Linked DNA regions of Homo sapiens: regions 1 and 2 are each linked to region 3. Evidence: promoter capture Hi-C in human tissues and cell types (Jung and others, 2019). All regions are on one chromosome and are shown on one strand. Each heading gives the region's core, a stretch centred on a gene start or on the middle of the fragment in contact. The rest is flanking DNA. Distances are from core to core; before and after follow the strand shown. Region 1 has its middle 13 kb from the start of USP54. Region 2 overlaps USP54 (ubiquitin specific peptidase 54). Region 3 holds the start of SEC24C (SEC24 homolog C, COPII component).

Region 1 (3,857 bases), core at 128-2,627, 140 kb before region 3:
CGCACCACTGCACTCCAGCCTGGGCGACAGAGCAAGACTCTGTCTCAAAAAAAAAAAAAAAAAAAAAAAAATAGTATAATAGTGGTACAAAATATCTTCAATCAGAAGTACATGGGTTCCAAATAGTTATTCAACAAACATTTCTATACACCTATTATGTGCAAGTATCTCTGATAGGGTGCTGAACTGGGCTTTTGAAAACAGCATCACAAAAATCTAAGAAAGAACTCATCCCACCCTAATTAGCCTTCCCCAGGACCTTTGCAGTATTTTTACTTCAGTCATCACAAGCTTCTAATACGCTAACAGGCTGTCTAAGGAGTATAAACTATGTCAGAGAAAAATCAAATTCATTAGTGGTTACCTTTGGTGAGGGACTTGTAATCAATAAGGGGAAACTCGGGAGCAAACCAATTTACTAATATTTAATTTGCTGGATGGCGATTATAAAGATGTTTACTGTGTTATTCTTTTAAATGTCTTAGAAAATATATAATAAAATTTTTAAAAAACAGAACTGTGAATCAAAGGAAAAGAGAAAGGACAACCCATGAGATGGGAGAAAATATTTGTAAATCATTATTCTGATAAGGGGCTAATATCCACAATATATAAAGACCTCCTGCCATGTGCAGTGGCTCACATCTGTAATGCCAGCACTTTGGGTGGCCAAGGCGGGCAGATCATTTGAGGCCAGGAGTTTGAGACCAGCTTGGCCAACATGGCGAAACCCCATCTCTACTAAACCTGTCTCTATTAAGCCCTGTCTCTACTAAAAATGCAAAAAAGTTAATCAGGCGTGGTGGCGCACACCTGTAATGCCAGCTGCTTGGGAAGCTGAGGCAGGAGAAGCACTTTAACCCGGGAGGCAGAGGTGGCAGTGAGCCGAGATCACACCACTCAACTCCAGCCTGGGTGACAGAGTGAGACCCTGTCTCAAAAACAAAAACAACAAAAAAAAAAACTACAAGTCAACAACAACAAAATACAATTAAAAAATAAAGAACTTGAACAGACATTTCTCCAAAGAAGATACACCAATGGCCAATGAACACAGGAAAAGACACTCAAGTTCACTAATCATTAGGGAAAATAAATCAAAACCACAGTGAGATATCACCTCACACTTATTAGGATGGCTACTATTAAAAAAAAAGGTGGCCAGGCACAGTGGCTCACACCTGTAATCCCAGCACTTTGGAAGGACGAAGGGGGCAGATCATGAGGTCAGGAGTTCGAGACCAGCCTGGCCAATGTGGTGAAACCCTGTCTGTACTAAAAATACAAAAATTAGCCGTGTGTGGTGGTGCACACCTGTAGTCCCAGCTACTCAGGAGGCTGAGGCAGGAGAATCGCTTGAACCCAGGAGGCAGAGGTTGCAGTGAGCCGAGATCGCACCACTGACTCCAGCCTGGGCGACAGAGCGAGAGTCCATCTCAAAAAAACAAAACAAAACCACACACAAAACAAAAAAAACAGTGTTGGCAAGAACGTGGAGAAATTGGTATCCTTGTGCACATTGGTAAGAATGTCAAATGGTATAGCCAGTATGAAAATTAGTATGATAGTTCTTCAAAATTAAAATAAAATGACATATGATCCAGCAATTCTACTTTTGGTTACATATCCAAAAGAACTGAAAGTATGCTCTCAAAGAGATAACTTGCCAGGCACATTGGCTCACACACGTAATCCCAGTATTTTGGGAGGCTGAGGCAGGATTGCTTGATCTCATGAGTTTGAGACAAGGCTGGGCAACATAGTGAGACTCCATCTCCACAAATTTTTTTTTTTTTTTTGAGACAGAGTCTCGCATTGTTGCCGAGGCTGGAGTGCAGTGGTGCAATCTTGGCTCACTGCAAGCTCCGCCTCCCTGATTCACGCCATTCTCCTGCCTCAGCCTCCCAAGCAGCTGGTGTGTCCAGAGTTGGTTCCTTCCAGTGGGTTCTTGGTCTCGCTGACTTCAAGAACGAAGCCGCAGATCTTCACGATGAGTGTTACAGCTCTTAAAGGTGGCACAGACCCAAAGAGTGAGCAGCAGCAAGATTTATTTTGAAGAGCAAAAGAACAAAGCTTCCACAGTGTGGAAGGTGACCCAAGCGGGTTGCCGCTGCTAGCTGGGGTGGACAGCTTTTATTCCCATATTTGTCCCCACCCACGTCCTGCTGATCGGTCCATTTTACAGAGTACTGATTGGTCCATTTTTACAGAGTGCTGAATGATGCATTTACAATCCTTTAGCTAGACACGGAGTGCTGATTGGTGCATTTACAATCCTTTAGCTAGACACAGAGCACTGATTGCTGTGTTTACAATCCTCTAGCTAGACAGAAAAGTTCTCCAAGTCCCCACTCGACCCAGGAGGTCCAGCTGGCTTCACCTCTCACTGGGACTACAGGCCCCCGCCACCATGCCTGGCTAATTTTTTGTATTTTTAGTAGAGACGGGGTTTTACCATGTTAGGCAGGATGGTCTCCATCTCCTGACCTCATGATCCGCCCACCTTGGCCTCCCAAAGTGCTGGGATTACAGGTGTGAGCCACTGCACCTAGCCAATTTTTTTTTTAATTAGTTGGATGTGGTGGTGTGTGCCTGTAGTCTCAGCTACTTGGGAAGCTGAGGTGAAAGGATCACTTGAGCCCAGAATATCGATACTGCAGTGAGCCATGATTGTGCCACTGCATTCCAGCCTGGGCAACAGAGCAAGACTCTGTCTCAAAAAATAAATAAAGAGATAATTGTATACCCATGTTCATAGCAACATTATTGACAATAGACAACAGGTAGGAGCCACCTAAGAGAACAGGTAAGCAAAATGTGGTACATACATAGAACTGATTCAGCCTTAAAAAGGAAGGAAAATCTGATACATGCTACAACACAGATGAACTTGAGGACATTATACTACGTGAAATAAGCCAGTCACAACAGGACAAATACCAATGACTCCATTATATGAGGCATGAAGAATAGTCAAATTCATTGAAACAGAAAGTTGGATGGTGGTGGCTAGGCACTTTGGGGAAGGAGGAATCGGGGGGTGTTTAATGGATTTGGAGTCTCAGTTTTATGAGATGAAACAGGGTGGGCAGGTGTGGTAGCGCACACCTGTAATCCCAGCACTTGTGGAGGCCAAGGCGGGTGGATCACCCAATGTCAGGAGTTCAAGACCAGCCTGGCCAACATGGTGAAACCCTGTCTTTACTAAAAATACAAAAATTAGCCAGGCGTGGTGGTACAGTCCTGTAATCCCAGCCACTCGGGAGGCTGAAGTAGGAGAATCACTTGAACCCAGGAGGCAGAGGTTGCAGTGAGCTGAGATCACCCCACTGCACTCCAGCCTGGGCGACAGAGTGAGGCTGTCTCAAAAAAAAAAAAAAAAAAAAAAAAAAAATGAGAGTGCTGAAGATTGGCTGCACAACAATGTGAATGTATGCAACACTACTGAACTGTACACTTAAAATGGTTAAGATGATAAATATTATGTGTATTTTACCACAATTTTTTAAAAAATAAAGAGAACTAATCAAAACACAAAGTGGGGTGTGATGCTGCTCACCTGTAGTCCCAGCCAATCAGGAGGCTGAGGTGGGAAGGAATTACTTGAGCCTAGGAGTTCGAGTACAGCCTGGGCAACACAGGAGAGCCCATCTCTTAGCCTGATCAGTATAAGATGTTGAGAGAGAAACACTCTAAATTCAAATTCAAATAAACAATCTGCTGCTTTTCTCATTTCAAAAAACAATTCAAGCCTTACTAGTGATATTTGTTGAAAAGGACTAATAGGCGCCGGGCGCAGTGGCTCACGCCTGTAATCCCAGCACTTTGGGAGGCCGAGGTGGGCAGATCACAAGGTC
Region 2 (3,753 bases), core at 709-3,208, 160 kb before region 3:
ATTAAAATTACAAAAAAATTAGCTGGGTGTGGTGGCAGACATCTGTAATCTCAGCTACTTGGGAGGCTGAGGCAGGAGAATCGCTTGAACCCGGGAGGTGGAGGTTGCAGTAAGCTGGGATTGCACCACTGCACTCCAGCCTGGATGACACGGCAAGACTCCATCTCAAAAAAACAACAACAACAACAACAAAAAAAAACTACCCAATTTTGTTTAATGGGCAAAAGATTTGAACATTTCACCAAACAAGATATACAAATGGTAAATAAGCACATGGAAAGATGTTCAACATTATTAGCCATGAGGGAAATGGAAATTAAAACTACACTATACACCTATTAGAATAGTTAAAAACAAAAACAAAAAAACTTTTTAAACCTGACAATAACAAGTGCCGATGAGGAATCAGAGCAACTGGAACTCTCCTACATTGTTTATGGAAATGCAAAACAGGCCAGGTGCAGTAGTTCACGCCTGTAATCCCAGCACTTTGGGAGGCTGAGGCGGGTGGATCACCTTGGATCAGGAGTTCAAGACCAGCCTGGCCAACATGGTGAAACCCTGTCTCTACTAAAAATACAAAAATTAGCCAATGGCAGGCACCTATAATCCCAGCTCCTAGGGGGCATTGAGGCAGGAGAATTGCTTGAAACCAGGAGGTGGACATTGCAGTGAGCCGAGATCAAGCCACTGCACTCCAACCTAGGCAACAGAGAAAGACCCCATTTCAAAAAAAAAAAAAAAAAGAAAGAAAAAGAAAAAGAAATGCAAAATGACACACTTGGCAGTTACTTCTAAACTTAAATATATAGTCATGAGCTGTATAACAATGTTTCAGTCAAGAAGAGACCGCATATACAATGGTAGTCCCATAAAATTATGGGATTATGGGACTTACCTTATTTTTACTGTAACTTTTCTATGTTTAGATATGTTTAGGTGCACATCTATTACTATTGTGTTACAATTGCTTATTTTATTTATTTATTTATTTATTTTTGAGATGGAGTTTCGCTCTTCTTGCCCAGGCTGGAGCGCAATGGTGTGATCTTGGCTCACTGCAACCTCTGCCTCCCGGGCTCAAGCGATTTTCCTGCCTCAGCCTCCCGAGTAGCTGGGATTACAGGCACGCACCATCACGCTCAGCTATTTTTTGTATTTTTGTATTTAGTAGAGATGGTGTTTCACCATGTTGACCATGCTGGTCTCCAACTCCTGACTTCAGGTGATCCTCCCGCCTCAGCCTCCCAAAGTGCTGGGATTACAGGTGTGAGCCACCGTGCCTGGCATCTATTATATTTAGTACAGTAACATCCTATACAGGTTTGTAGCATAGCAGCAGTAGGCTATATCGTATAGTCTAGGTGTGTAGTAGGCTATACCATCTAGGTTTATGCAAATACACTTAAATGATATTCACACAATGACAAAACCACCTAACACCACATTTCTCAGAACACATCCCTGTTGTTAAGCAAAACATGGCTGCACTTTTGCCATACTTTTACCTACCAATCCTACTCCTAGGTATTTTACCATAAAGAAATAAAAAATTGGGCTGGGCATGGTAGCTCATGCCTAAAATCCCAGAATGGGAGGACAAGGCTGGTGGATCACTTGAGGCCTGGAGTTCGAGGTGAGCGTGGGCAACATGGTAAACTTCTAGGAAAGTAAAAGCCAAAATTGGGATGGAAGCATGTCATCTTATTACGTATTTCCTTGTGTAACACAGTTACTAAGTTATATGTCCCACTGTTCCCAATCTGAAAACACTAGCCTCCTGTGGGTAAGCCAAAAACCTTTCCATGTATGAAATGATGGAAAACAGTGGGTCTCAACCTTTTTGCAGTGCCTCACATCCAGAGGCAGATTTACCAAGCCACTGAAACTTAAGCTTCAGGACTCTTTCTCTTGCACAGATTCTCAAGGCCCAATATCTCATTTTCTGTTTCAAAAAATATTTTCCTTAAAGGAGGCCCTCTGAATTGCATAAGCTTCAAGTGTCAGAGAATCTAAGTCTGCCCCATCCACATTACATAAATGGGGCTTTTATAGTATATGTCACTTGAGAAAATACATAATTCAAAAAGCTACTTTGAATTCAGTAATACTAATAAATTTGTATTTTATTAATCAAAGAAACATCTAATGTTATTCACTGTATAAAATTTGTTTGAACTAAATAGATCTAAATATAATATTTGGTCCACATTTGGATTTTGGATTCTTGTGCTCACAGCAAGTAACTCCACAGTCAACAGGGCTAAATTGAAAAGATCATTACAGATTAAGGTTGCCAGAATTAAAGACATACCTCTAGAAGCTGGTGACCTTTAGAAAAAAACACTTTCTCTGTATTAGTGAAATACAGAGAATGATTCTTTCACAAGTATACACAGTACAGCTTAATGTGCTACCATTTTTCTCAGGCCAAAGTAATAAACCAGGCTCCAGCTGCAGCCACCCTAATTATCCCCCACTGTATTCTTCACCAACAAAGTCAGCTTCTCTCAGCCTGTTTCGGAAAAAACCCAAAGCAGTCATTCAAAGGAACTGGCTTGTGCATAAAGGGAGATGAGGCCTGGAAGGACACTGGGCCAGGAGGAGCCTGGCGCCCTAAGAGACAGAGGGGTAAATGAGGCCCAGAGAGCTACAGGTTATTAGCATAAGAGATTCATTATGAGCAGAGCTAGAATGGAACTGAAATCAATGAAGACTAGATAGAATTTGTTCGTGCAAAGCCTGGGAACCCTTTGATAAAACCAGGTGTAAAGTGTGGGAAGTTTCTAAGGAGAAGGACTTTTTTTTTTTTTTGAGACAGAGTCTCGCTCTGTCACCCAGGCTGGAGTGCAGTGATGCGATCTTGGCTCACTGCAACAGCCACCTCCACCTCCCGGGTTCAAGCAATTCTCCTACCTCAGCCTCCCGAGTAGCTGGGATTACAGGCATGCGCCACCATGCCTGGCTATTTTTGTACTTTTAGTAGAGACAGAGTTTCGCCATGTTGGCCAGGCTGGTCTTGAACTCCTGGCCTCAAGTGATCCACCCACCTCGGCCTCCCAAAGTTGTGAACCATGCGGTGGCACAGGCGTGAACCACTGCGCCCATCCAAGGAGATGGACTCTTTAAGCTAATTGACTTCACAGTAACTAAAGTTCAATAAAGTCTTTAAGGAGACACTATTAATTGCATGTGTAGAGAACTCCATGACATTAATAAAAATGACAGTATCAAAGTATCTCCACTAAGGCATTTATTAACTACAAAGGAAAATATAGTAGTTTCACAATGGAGAAACCCAGCAGAAACTACCTTAACCAAGTGATCAAGGTCAAAATAACCAGTAATAATACATATTGACATCATGAATGCCATGATATGATGCACTGAAAAGGACACAATTATTTCTGTGGTATTCTTGCCTAAACCATAATCTCAGTCCAATCATCAGAAAAATATCAGACAAATCCAAATTAAGGAATATTTGACAAATAGCCCTCAAACTGATATTGATCAATACTCTACAAAAATGTCAAGGTTATAAAAGACAAAGAAAGACTAAGAAACTTTTACAGAATACAGAAGAGTAAGGAAGAAAAACACCTAAAATGCAATGTGAGATTCCAGATAGGATCCTGGAACAGAAAAAGAACAATGCAGCTTGTGCAAGATGGCGAAACCCTGTCTCTACAAAACAAAGAAAATTTTTTTTTGAAACAAAGTTTCTCACTTGTCACCCAGGCTGGAGTAAAA
Region 3 (3,442 bases), core at 423-2,922:
GCCTAATATATAGTTTCCAGCACAGCCTAAAGTGCAAATTTTTCAGTGAATAAACCACTCTGTGCCTCAGAATAACTGATATTTACTGTCAATAATATGAGAACAAACACTTTTGTTCACTGCTCTATTTCCAGACCCAAGAACATGGCTTGGCACACAATGTCAGCGCTCAGTGGGTTCACCCTGCCTGCTGCCTTGACAAAGCTGATTTATCAAGACCAGGGAATTGCAATGGAGAAAGAGTAATTCACGCAGAGCCAGCTGTGTGGGAGACCAGAGTTTTATTATTACACAAATTAGTCTCCCTGAGCATTTGAGGATCAGAGTTCTTAAAGATAATTTGGCGAGTAGGAGCTTGGGAAGCGGGGAGTGCTGATTGGTCAGGTTGAAGACGGAATCACAGGGAGTCAAAGTGAGGTTTTCTTGCTGTTTTCTGTTCCTGGGTGGAATGGCAGAACTGATTGAGCCAGGTTACTGGTCTAGGTAGTCAGCTGATCCAATGAGTGCAGGGTCTGCAAAACATCTCAAGCACTAATCTTAGGTTTTACAATAGTTATGTTATTCCTAAAAGCAATTTGGGGAGGTTCAGACTCTTGGAGCGAGAGGCTGCATGTCCCCTAAACTGTAATTTGTAATCTTGTAGCTAATTTGTTAGTCCTGTAAAGACAGACTGGTCCCCAGGCAAGAAGGGGGTCTTTTCGGGAAGGGGCTATTATCAATTTTGTTTCAAACCATAAACTGAATTCCTCCCCAAAGTTAGTTCCACCTACACCCAGGAATGAATAAGGACAGCTTAAAGGTTAGAAGCAAGATGGAGTCGGTTAAGTCTGATTTCTTCCACTATCATAATTTCCTCAGTTGTAATTTTGCAAAGGCAGTTTCAACAGCAGTGCTCGAAAAATTATGAAATCAACAAATAGTACTGAAAAGTTCAAATGAAGTCATATATGAAAAAGAAATCCTAGCACTGTTAGCTATAATTACTTAGCCATTAAATGGGGTACTAATAATTACTGCAGGAACTATCTTTTCCAACAGAGCGCAGAGATCTTTTGGCTCTGATAAAGCTCTGCACCTAAACAAAGGCGCTGTATAAAAATGGTTAATAACAATTGACCTTTACTGAGTGCTTACTATGATGCCAAGCGGCCTATGTGGCCTAATTTCATCCTCTGGGCATTATTATTTCCATTTTACAAGCTGTAGAGCCAGACCTCAGACCCCCACATGCAGGTTGACAACAGTTGGTGCCCTTTACCACCACCACACGTTCCGCAAATCTCATAACCAGCAAACGCCATGGGTGAGAGCAACCTAGCGGACGGAAATCAACGGGGTCAGGGGTCACCAGGAAGTGACTACAAGACTCTAGCTCAGAGGTCACTAATACGTCACAGGCAGAGTGAAGGGGCATTATTAAAGATAGTTTGACAAATTCTTTTTAATCTCATTTCTGTTGGTGAGGCCATAAAGTGACTGGAACATCTGAAAAAAAATGTCAGGAGGGAAATACATACGACTCAGCAGAGGCGCACAGGCGGCGGCCATGATGGGAAGATGAAAGAGGCGCATGCGCGGCATCCGGGTCCCCGAAATGCAGACGTGGCAGAAGAAGTGGCCCGGCCCTAAAGCGTGGAGGAGGAACTTCCGGGGGTGACGGGACGGCCCCCTCGGAACCGGAAGTGGAGCCTGGGAGCCTTGACGTTAGGAACGAAGTCTAACCTGGATCTGGAGCCGGGTGAGGAGTGGCATCGGGAGGTTGGCGGGTAGGAAAGCAAAGGAGAGGTCAGGGTATTACTGGCCAGATTGGGGTCCGGTTTCAGAAAGAAGGGAGGAGCCTGGGGGCGGGGCCTGGGTAGAGACCCTCACCTCACGCATCCACCATCCAGGAGCAGGTCCTAGACCATCCCTTCGTCTCCCGGCCCAGATTCCGGCTCCTGCTTCCTGCCCCGAGCCTGTTAAAAGGTGCAAGACGTTTGGTCTCTGTGCTTAACAGAGCAGCCCCCTCTCTTAACGTGGCCCTAGAAGCCGACTTGGCTTCTCGGTTTTGATCCTCGGCTCTCCGAGGCTCCATGGCTTGACTACTTTCAGAGTTCTAGGAAGCTTGCCCCGCCCCCTTGGGTTGTCACCCTCGACTATCCACCCAGAATGGAGTCGAGACTTCAGTCTGACTCCAAGCTCTTGAATGTGTTTGAGGGGATTATTTTCTGGAGAAGAAGCTCCTTTCTTTACCCCTCCCCCCGGCTTTGGAAACATAAAGGGAGAGGACATATTTTAAACTTAGTGTCAGTGACCTACCTCTGTAAGGTTTAGGGTTTGGAAGAACAGCTATTGAGATAACTTTGAGTTTAAAGAGTTTTAGACCAGGATCAGCTCCTTTTCTATAGTCAAGGTGGCCCTTCTAGCAAAGGGGGAGAGGTCCATTGTTCCCTTTGCAGCAACTCTGAGTGCTCCTGCTTTCTGGGCCCCTTCTGTCTACAGGATAATTGGAATGATACAGCTGTTGAAAGTAGATGTGATGAGATAGTTTTCTTGGAAGGACCCTGTTTAGAAAAGGCCCTCTAATTCATCCCTGTGTTGATGAGCAAGATTGTAATAATTTTGATGGTGGCTGAGATTCATAACAATCGTAAGGGGAGCAGAAACAGGAGAGTTGGAGAAGTGCATTGGAATTTAGAATATTCATAGTCTTCTGCTTGAGGGATGAGGTGAATGATTTTTTTCCATGAAATCTAACTCTAACTTTGCCCCTGATTCTTGAACTGTTTCCTCAGATTATGTGAAGAAGTTTTGGTGCCTGTTCTGCACTTGGTTTTAATCTGTTACCTTGCTAGAGTTTTCAGGTGTCCTTTATTTTTTATTTTTTTGAAAGGGCGTCTTGCTCTATTGCTCAGGCTGGAGTGCAGTGGCACGATCTCGGCTTATTGCAATCTCCGCCTCCCGGGTTCAAGCGATTTCTCCTGCCTCAGCCTCCCAAGTAGCTGGGATTACAGGCGTGTGCCACCATGCCCGGCTAGTTTTTGTATTTTTAGTAGAGACTGGGTTTCACCGTGTTGGCCAGGCTGGTCATGAACTCCTGACCTCAAGTGATCTGCCCGACTTGGCCTTCCAAAGTGCTGGGATTACAGGCATGAGCCACTGTGCCTGGCCAACTTTTATTGATTTTAATGCTTCGGTTTTGGCCGGGCGTGGTGGCTCACACCTGTGATCCCAGCACTTTGGGAGGCCAAGGTGGGTGGATCACGAGGTCAGGAGATCGAGACCAGCCTGGCTAACAGGGTGAAAACCTGTCTCTACTAAAAATACAAAAACTAGCTGGGTGTGGTGGCACGCGCCTGTAATCCCAGCTACTCGGGAGGCTGAGGCAGGAGAATCGTTTGAACCCAGGAGGTGAAGGTTGCAGTGAGCCGAGATCGCGCCACTGCACTCCAGCCTGGCAACA

Evidence for each region. Contacts are between HindIII fragments. The study calls those that stand out against the background at their distance.
Region 1: a fragment that was not itself captured here is called in contact with the fragment with the promoter of SEC24C in region 3 in 2 of the 25 tissues and cell types used here (hippocampus and mesenchymal stem cells).
Region 2: a contact is called between a fragment that was not itself captured here and the fragment with the promoter of SEC24C in region 3, in 2 of the 25 tissues and cell types used here (IMR-90 fibroblasts and bladder).

What each region holds. Positions count from the first base shown.
Region 1 is chr10:73,602,810-73,606,666 of GRCh38, forward strand. It overlaps a transcript of USP54 not described here. Among named protein-coding and RNA genes, the nearest start is that of USP54, 13 kb to the left of the region's middle. The HindIII fragment of the contact is 5,507 bases long and covers 1-3,857 here.
Region 2 is chr10:73,579,590-73,583,342 of GRCh38, forward strand. The region is part of intron 1 of USP54 (ubiquitin specific peptidase 54); the gene reads right to left. Among named protein-coding and RNA genes, the nearest start is that of USP54, 9.9 kb to the right of the region's middle. The HindIII fragment of the contact is 5,223 bases long and covers 1-3,753 here.
Region 3 is chr10:73,742,700-73,746,141 of GRCh38, forward strand. SEC24C (SEC24 homolog C, COPII component) reads left to right here and starts at 1,673. Exons shown (of 23, transcript NM_198597.3): 1 at 1,673-1,738. LOC124902453 (a long non-coding RNA gene) reads right to left here and starts at 1,566. Exons shown (of 2, transcript XR_007062195.1): 1 at 1,518-1,566; 2 at 265-512. RefSeq lists enhancers at 1,015-2,214, 1,054-1,621, 1,292-1,721, 1,622-2,188. The HindIII fragment of the contact is 12,749 bases long and covers 1-3,442 here.